3 separate regions of the Homo sapiens genome follow, and all the other regions are linked to region 3. Evidence: promoter capture Hi-C in 16 types of primary human blood cells and fetal thymus (Javierre and others, 2016). All regions are on one chromosome and are shown on one strand. The core of a region is centred on a gene start or on the middle of the fragment in contact, and the rest is flanking DNA. Distances in the headings are between cores, read along the strand shown.

Region 1 (3,099 bases), core at 90-2,589, 1.7 Mb after region 3:
ACGTCCTGATCTTACTCTTCGAGTTGAGGGTTTACCATCTTGGCATTGGGTAGCCGTGTTTCCCTGAGGCTACAGATTAAGAGGGGTCACCAACTCATTCCATCTGCTCTCATCTCGGCAGAGCAGGCCTACAGGTCAATCCCATTCCACTTGTGCATTTCATTCTGATCTGTAACAGTAACAAGGCCTGGATGAAAAGATCACTGAAAAAACAAACTAGAAATATTCTAAAATAGTTGTCATTTTCCTTCCATAGACTATCAGGGAGTTTGTATCTTTGAGACAGAACCCACACAGACTCAGTTTCTCTATGCAGTCCTTGTTTCCTGCCATTTAATTTTAGATGAAAATGAGACATATGAGTACACTGAAAAGTAACATCACCATCTGGAAAATTATACATAAGGAAAATGCAATAAGGGAATATAGATCCTTCAGCCCCTATTCCAGTACTCTTTAACAACTCTGCTTCCTTGGACGGGAATTCATGAGGTATAATACTTAAGGAGATTTTCATCTGTAGGTTTTAGGATTTTCTTATCGGCCATATTCACCACCCATCCTGGAGCAAGACCAAAGAAAATCTGCCTTGGATCCTTCCTAGTACAGAGCATTTTGAAGAGTTCATCTTTAGTGATATCAGGTAAGATATAACCATACTTCCTGGCGAGTTCAAGTCGTGCTTCAGGAAATTTGGCAGGATCCGCCAGGTACCCACGGTTCTTTGCATCAGTGTAATATGGTACCAGTTCTTCTGGTGGAAGCATTCTTTTTGGAATGGGTTGTCCACGAAGAAAGAATGGAACAGGTTTGCATACAATGTCTAAAAGAAAATTTAAATTTAAAAAGTGAGATGCAAATATTAGCTCATAGACATACCTAGAGATGTAACTCTAACATAGAGATGTAACTCTGTACCATAGAGATGTTACAGAGTTTCTCTTGATTATTAATTTTTATTATTTTTTTTTTGAGACGCAGTTTCACTCTTGTTGCCCAGACTGGAGTACAATGGCACCATCTCGGCTCACTGCAACCTCTGCCTCATGGGTTCAAGCAATTCTCCTGCCTCAGCCTCCCAAGTAGCTGGGATTAGAGGCACATGCCGCCACGCCCGGATCATTTTGTATTTTTAGTAGAGACGGGGTTTGACCATGTTGGTCAGGCTGGTCTGGAACTCTTGACCTCAGGTGATCCACCCACCTGGGCCTCCCAAAGTGCTGGGATTACAGGCATGAGCAACCATACCTGTATCTGGAAAACCAATTTTACTAAAATGAGTTATCTTAACTAAAGAGCAGGCAAAGAAATCTTATGTGAAACAAACCAAGGAATGCTGCATAACCCCAGTTCTGTTTTCAAACATTTTAAAGGACCCGAGACACATGTTCTGAAAGTGAGATAGTGAAAAAAAGGCCTACGCACAAGATATCACAGATGCCACAGGGCCTTTAGATAGCTTAGAAAGCAATTACACAAATAGATAACTGTATGAATACAACTGACACTCTACTCATCGTGTTAGCAATGCAACCTTAACCAAAGCTGGTTACAGAAATCAAAACAGTACTAAGGAAATTACTGAGAACCTCAAAATAATAGTACATATGTCACAGAGCAGTTACAAAGTTTACCTGATGTAATCCACAGAATCCATTCACACATGTATAGTATTTGGTATACAATGAGACAGATGTTAACTATCACCCACCAGGGCGTAAGCTCTGTGAAGGAAGGGACTTTTTTTTTTTTTTTTTTGAGACAAAGTCTCGCTCTGTCGCCCAGGCTAGAGTACAGTGGCATGATCTCGGCTCACTGCAACCTCTGCCTCCCAGACTCAAGTGATTCTCCTGCCTCAACCTCCCAAGTAGCTGGGATTACAGGCATGCACCACCATGCTCAGCTAATTTTTGTATTTTTAGTAGAGATGGGGTTTTGCCATGTTGGCCAGGCTGGTCTTGAACTCCTGAACTCAGGTGATCCACTTCACTTGGCCTCCCAAAGTGCTGGGATTACAGGCGTGAGGCCACTGCGCCCGGCCAGGAAAGGACTTTTGACTCTTGCACTATCGTCTCTCCATCAGCTGGAACAGTATCTAGCAAACACTAGCCTCTGGCTGTTTGCTGAATGCAAGAATCTGACAGCTGTTTTATACAGCTCTAATATATTGCATCACCTAGCAGTATCTCCACACAGGGCAAATGAGAAATGGTGATTAGGAGGTACTCCAGGCAGGCCACTCACAGAAATGAGAACTGGAAGCTATCTGCTAAGGGTCGAGACCAAGAATTATAAAGCAGAGCCACCTAAAGCCAGGTCATGCTCTGGATAAACCATCCTACCTACTTCACCTACAACAGAGGGTAAGTAAATAGTGGATGTCCTTGAATCATCAAGAAAGTATCTTCAAAATATATTTAAGAAAGAAATTTGTAGACCAGGCACAATGGCTCATGCTTTTAATGCCAGCACCTTGGGAGGTAGGAGAATTGCTTGAGCGCAGGAGTTCAAGACCAGCCTGAGCAACATAGTGAGACCTCATCTCTACAAAACATAAAACAAAAAAAAGTTAGCATGGTGACATGCACCTGTAGTCCCAGTTACTCAGGGGGCCTAGGTGGCAGGATTTCTTGAGCTCAGGAGTTTCAGATTGCAGTGAGTGGAACTGCACTCTAGCCTGAGAGAGCAAGACCATCTCAAATGAAAAGAAAAAAAAAAAATTTCTGGCCCGGCATGGTGGCTCACACCAAGGATCACTTGAAACCAGGAGTTTGAGACCAGCATGGGCAACACAGTAAGACCCCTATCTTTATAAAAATCAAATTAGCCAGGCATGGTGGCACACACCTGTAGTCCCAGCTACTCATGAGGCTGAGATGGGAGGATCACTTGAGCCCAGGAGTTGGAGGTTGCAGTCAGCCTTGATCACACCACTACATTCCAGCCTGGGTGACAGAGTGAGACCATGGTGCAAAAAATTTTCTATAACTTGGAAAACTAAAGTACAACAAAGTAAATTATTCAGAGGCAAAATTGCTAATAAGTGATAAGCCTGTGATTGGATTTGTTTTATTACTTTTTTAAACAAAAAGATCCTGG
Region 2 (2,865 bases), core at 189-2,688, 1.7 Mb after region 3:
AATAGTGTGTCCCAGGCTATCAGCATGCAGGCAGTGATGGCAGATACACGCCCTGAGAGTGAAGCCACAGCGAAGCTTCGACAGCAGGGGCCAGCGGCGAGTCATGAGGGGAATATAATGGCAGCTTCTCTAACTCCGGACAATATCCAGCAGCAGCTAACACTTTCTCATTCTCCAGTTAATGCAATAAAATTGCAGAGATGCTACATACGGTATTAATAGGAAGCAATAAGTATGCATTAGAATAACTCCTTTCCCAGTGTCAGGTTATTCTGACCAATGTGACTCCAGAGAGGAACTAGGCTCGCTATCAGCAACACTGAGCTACAGCTGGCTGGACTGGGCTATGGCCTAAAATTCTCTGTCACATCTCCCTGTGCAAGACAGCAAATTTCTACCTCTGCCTCCAGCAACTTTTGTACACAGAACAATGACCCAATCCCTCCTGAGAACTGTCCCACCTACATACGGGAGAAGCAATAAAAAGAGACCCAGCCTCCCCAGGAATTTCTCTGGGCCAGAGTCACTCCTTATATTTAAGACAGTCAGCAGTTTATAACACCTGCTGCATTATAAATCTTAGTCCTCCAAACCAGTGGTCTTTCATCTTAAAATCAGTTGAGTGATGATTTGATGTCAATGTAATATTGAAGTCAGGGAAGAGAAATAACCACAAACCTCTGCTTGATATGAGAAGGCACTGTGAAGGAAAATGTTTAGGACTTACAGAAAGTACACAAGAAAAATGTATAGAATCCTTATGTTGGCAGACTGGATGTCAATTTATGGCATTTGCACATAGTATGTCTACTATTCTAGTTTTATTTTAAATGTAAGTTTCTTTACATTAAAAAAAATGTTTTGGGGAGGGCACGGTGACTCATGCCTATAATTCAAGCACTTTGGAAGGCCGAGGCAGGTGGATTGCTTGAGGCCAGGAGTTCAAGACCAGCCTGGCCAACATGGAGAAACCCCATCTCTACTAAAAATACAAAAGTTAGCCAGGGGTGGTGGCATGTGCCTGCAATCCCAGCTACTCGAGAGGCTAAGGTGGGAGAATTGCTTGAACCCAGGAGGCAGAGGTTGCAGTAAGCCAAGATCACACCACTGCACTCCAGCTTGGACGACAGAGCGAGACTCTGTCTCAAATTTTAAAAAATTGAAATATTTTAAAGTTTTGGTTTATAAATATTCTTATGGTAATATAAAAGGTATCTTTTACCACGTGCAGAGCAAATGACTAAATCAGAAATGAATAAGACAACAGTCCCAACCCAAAATAAAAAAGGCTTATAACAGGCCTGGCATGGTGGCTTACACCTGTAATCCCAGCACCATGAGAGGCCGAGGCTGGTGGATTGCTTGAGTCCAGGAGTTTGAGACCAGCCTGGGACACATTGTGAAACCTCACCTCTATTAAAAATACAAAAAATTAGCAAGTCATGGTGATGCTTGCCCATAGTCCCAGCTACTCGAGAAGCTGAGGTGGGAGGATCACCTGAGCCCAGGAGGTTTAGGCTGCAGTGAGCTGAGATGGCACCACTGCACTCCAGCCTGGACAACCAGAGTGAGATCCTGTCTCAAGAAATATAAAAAATAAATAAAAGAATTATAAGAGAACACTGTGACCAGCCTAACCAACATGGTGAAACTCCATCTCTACTAAAAATACAAAAATTAGCTGGGCATGGTGGTGCATGCATGCAGTCCCAGCTACTCGGGAGGCTGAGGCAGAAGGATGGCTGGAACCCGGGAGGCAGAGGTTGCAGTGATCCCAGATCATGCCACTTGCACTCCAGCCTGGGTGACAGAGCACATTTCTGTCTCAAAAATAAAATAAAATAATAAAAATAAAGAGAACACTGTGAAAAATTGTGTGCCAACCAATTAGATAACCTAGTTGAAATGGATAAATTACTTGACAGACACAAACTACAAAAACAGACTCAAGAAGAGTAGAAAATCACAGAAAAAAAGAGAAATAAAAAAGAATAGAAAATCTGAAAAGATGTATAACAAGAGAATTATTAATCAAAAACTTCCCACAAAGAATAGCCCAGGGTCAGATGACTTCACTGGTGAATTCTACCAAATATTTAAAGAATTAATGCCAATTCTTCAAAAATTCTTCAAAAAAAAAAAGAGGAGGAAACACTTCGAAATCATTCTATTTGCCTAGTATAACACTGATACCAAAGACATCACAAAAAACTACAAATATATTTTAAATGATACATGCAAAACTCAACAAAATACAAGCAATCCAAATTCAGCAACATATAAAAGAGGATTATATACTATGACCAAGTGGAATTTATCCCAGGTATACAAGGTTGGTTTAATATCTGAAAATCTATCAATGTAATACACCAAATTAATAGAATAAAAGACAAAAACACATACTGATAAGAGATAGCCCATGTTCATGGATTAGACGACTTTTTTTTTTGAGACATGGTCTCACTTTGTCACTCAAGGTGGAGTACAGTGGCACAATCATGGCTCACTGCAGCCTCAACCTCCAGGGCTCAAGGGATTCACCTTAGCCTCTGCCTGTCCCTCAGGTACCTGAGACTATAGGCATGTTCCACCAGCTAATTTTTTATTTTTTACTTTTTTGTAAAGATGGAGTTTCACTATGTTGCCTAGGCTGGTCCCAAACCCCTGGGCTTAAGTGATCCTCCCACTTTGGTCTCCCAAAGTGCTGGAATTACAGAAGTGAGCCACCATGTCTGGCTAGAAGACTTAGTATTGTTAAAATAGCCATATTCTCTGAATTGATCTACAAATTTAAAGCTTGCATTTATCAAAATGCAAGCTGCCATTTTTGCAGAAATTGGCAAGGTGATTCTCAAATTTGTATGG
Region 3 (3,291 bases), core at 182-2,681:
TACTAATAAGGTCAGATGGCTAAATCTGACATGGTAGTCTTAGCTTCAACATCACCAAGCTGCAAAGAACCAAGAAGCCTCATTTATATGAATAGAATTCACTGCAATAAATAACAGTAACATCGTTTATGAAATGCTTGGTACGTACTAGGGGCTTTGTGTGTACTAAACAGCCCCTGAGGTATATATGCTCTCTCAAAGATGAAGAAACTCAAACAGGGAATTTCAATAATCGGTCCCCTAAATATACAGCCAGAAAAGTGCAAGGCCTAGATTCTGAGCTGGCGAAGAAGGGCGAATTTGGGATAATTAACACACTCGGATATACAAAAACACAACCGCTAATCCACATGACAGGCAGGCTGTTGGAAAGTTACGAATGCACCGCAAGCAAAAGATGCCACCATGGGCCCAGAGAATGCAGGAAAGTGGGAACTGACTCTTACGCCCTTCCCCCAAGGCGAAGGAAAGGCAACCCCTGAATTCTTAAAATAACTCTCGCTTCCTCTCAGCCGGCAAAAGCACCGGACTGCTCCTCGGCAGGCCGAGAGGCGCCGCAGCGGGAGGGTGAGTTCCAGCCTCCGCTGCAGCCCCTCGACGTCACGCTCCTGCCCGGGGCCACCAGGGAGGGCAACTGTCCGCGGGCCTCGAGAGGGCGCCGGCCGAGCCCCATCTCCCACTGCCAGGAGACCCAGGGTCCAGAGGGGAGATCAGATTGCACAATCCGAGGAGTCCTCTCCAGTATCCCCGCCGCGCGCCCGCTCCGCAAGGGCAGCGGCTTCCCCACTGTGTGCGAGAAGCGGCCGGAGCAGGGACAGCAGCCGGCCCTCGGGCCCTCACCGGGAAGGACACGCGGTGAGCCCGCCCCCGCGCCCGCACCTCCCACCGCTCCCCTGCGCGGCTCCGCGGCGGACACCTGCGGAGCCTCAGTCCCCGCGCCCTGGCTCCCCCGGGCCCGGTCACCCGTCGGCTGAAGACATCTAAGAGCCTTCGCCGCCGGAGCCCAGAGGCGGTGCGGCCAGGAAGCCGCCGCGGGCCGCGCCGATGCCCCCGGCCCCGAGTCTACCCTGCGCCCGGGACTCCGGCTGGTGGCACAGCCGCGGCCCCTGCACCCACTGCCCGCGTGCCCGCGCCCACCCCTGGGCTCGCGCAGAGGACTCACCCGCTCGCGGTGAAAGTTTCGGGGCGGCGGAGCTCCACGGTGACTTGAGTTCAGAGTGGGGGGCGCGACGGGGCGGCCCAGCAGGACCTGCGTATGGGGAGGCTGCTGGCCGGGAACGCTGGACGCGCGGCGAGGGGCTGCTGGCGCGGGGCCGGGGGTGGCGCGGCCGCCCCGCTTGCCGCGGGCTGGAGGCTGCAGCGCGTCTGGCCCGGAGGCGCCACGGCCGGGGAGCGAGCGGCAGCGCGGCCCGGCGCGGCGGGAGAGGAACTGGCTGTCTCTGGGCTCGGCCGAGAGGTCCCAGCTACTTCCTGGTGCTCGGATTTGCATATTGAGCCCGGAGGGCGGGGAAGTGACCGTTTGGTCCCTGCCCAAGGTTTGGGTGTTTGGTGTGGCCGTCGCGCAGGGCTTTGAAGGCACAGAAACCTGGCGACTCAGTCTGCAGCTCCGGGGAGTGGAGCAGCCCGGGCCAGCCTTCTCCTGTAGGGACGGACGGAAGGATCTCCAGAGGAGCCTGGGCTTCGCAGGCACATCGACTACACCTCTCGCGTCTCCTTTCCTTTCCTTCCGACCCATCCCCAAGGTATTATTAGGAAGGGGGTGCTCCCAGGAGCGGAGGAGGTGCGCTCTGATCCCTTCCAACATTAGGGGTTCTCTAGAGAAAGGATGCGATATGCCGAGGTGATGCTCGGGGTCTCGCTGAGTTCTTAATAATCATTACAAAGTAAGTTCCTTAAGGGTGTACAGGAGGCTGTTCAGGGCATTGATGGGGGAGGGGATGACGTAGAGTCAAATGGCCCGGCAAGTTCTCCGTTTCTCAAAGCCTCAGTTTCCTCCCAGGACAATGGATGTGAGGATGCCTATCTCGTGTACCTTTCTGTACAGGGCCCGCACTGCCCGCATGCAGGAATGCTGGCGTTATTTCATTCCTACTACAGCTGCGTCCCAGCATGTAGGGCAGTGCTTGCACGTAGCAGCTGGTGCCTAACCAGTGTTTGCTGAAAGAATGTGTGACCGCGTGCTCAAGCTCATGTTCAACTCAATAAATGCCACTTACAAATCCAAGATGTAAGATTAGGCTCGGGCACCGTGGATACCCACTTCTTCTAAGCCAGATTCTGTTCACTGGGATCTCAGCATTGCATTAATAGCAAACATTTACAGAGGGCCTGATGGGCCAGACACTGCCCAAAGCACTTCCTTTCTCTCATTAACAATGTTCTGAAGAGGCTGACCCCAGCTACAGAGCAATAAGTCAAAGCAGCTGCCTTGTGACACAATCTGATACAGCAGTTATTTGTTACTAGGAAAAGAGTACTAAAGTTTGCATACTAATTCCTTAAAAGAAGAAAGGTGGTTTATACCTGTGATGTTCACTGGTATGTAGTTGTTAGTTTACTGCTGAAGAGAAGGGGTGGGTTGCCCATGGAAATACCCATGGGAAGGTGTGTGATTGAAACCTATCAAGAATCCTATGGAGAAAAATAGAAAAATGAAAAAAGAACAAAACAAAACAAAATGAAACAAAAAACAATGAATCCTACAGAATAATTCACTACCTGAGGGCCTATTGCCTAGACTTTTCTTAAGAATGACCTCTCAAATATATTAACCCTACATTAAAGTTTCTGCTGCTACTGATGAATCCTTGAGATCCTGACTAAACGTGTGTGGCAAATAAGAATAGGATTCAAAAACGTTTGGTATTGGTTAATCTATCAGGAATGTCTGTCAGTGTTTTTGGTAAAATGTCTCTCAGGGTAAGGAACAAAGCATCATCAGGCTTACCTGAGCTTGCAACCAGATCCCCAACTCCCTAACTCCTCACAAAATTGTCCTCACTAAGTTCATCTCTTCATTCTTATTTGGAAAAAAACGATACGATGCTAATTTCCACTTCTTAGGCTGCATTTATACTTGCTGAATACTTCATTCAATCATTCTCCATATCTGTCTTTCCTTCTTAATGTCCCATGAAAGTTCTATTTCTCAGGAAAGTTTTATTTAAAGCTCCTATTGATAGGCAACTTTTTAAAGCATCTGTAGCATGTATGGTGTGCAACATTATTTTAAACTAGACCTAGGTACTTTTTAGCATTGTTTGCCCATGTTAGGCTTGTCTCCTCAACTAC

Evidence for each region. The method cuts DNA at HindIII sites, captures the fragments that hold promoters and counts their contacts. A CHiCAGO score of 5 or more calls a contact.
Region 1: a fragment that was not itself captured here is called in contact with the fragment with the promoter of LYN in region 3 in 1 of 17 cell types (total B cells); the score reaches 5.6 in total B cells.
Region 2: a fragment that was not itself captured here is called in contact with the fragment with the promoter of LYN in region 3 in 1 of 17 cell types (M0 macrophages); the score reaches 5.8 in M0 macrophages.

Annotation. Positions count from the first base shown.
Region 1 is chr8:54,145,106-54,148,204 of GRCh38, reverse strand. It overlaps MRPL15 (mitochondrial ribosomal protein L15), which reads right to left. Exons shown (of 5, transcript NM_014175.4): 5 at 1-823. The coding sequence ends at 486. Among named protein-coding and RNA genes, the nearest start is that of MRPL15, 11 kb to the right of the region's middle. The HindIII fragment of the contact is 4,802 bases long and covers 1-3,099 here.
Region 2 is chr8:54,163,178-54,166,042 of GRCh38, reverse strand. No RefSeq gene overlaps it. Among named protein-coding and RNA genes, the nearest start is that of MRPL15, 29 kb to the right of the region's middle. RefSeq lists an enhancer at 327-376. The HindIII fragment of the contact is 2,721 bases long and covers 78-2,798 here.
Region 3 is chr8:55,877,975-55,881,265 of GRCh38, reverse strand. It overlaps LYN (LYN proto-oncogene, Src family tyrosine kinase), which reads right to left and starts at 1,431. Exons shown (of 13, transcript NM_002350.4): 1 at 1,163-1,431. RefSeq lists silencers at 648-827, 858-1,147, 1,228-1,397, 1,418-1,477 and enhancers at 1,628-1,687, 2,248-2,337. The HindIII fragment of the contact is 13,046 bases long and covers 1-3,291 here.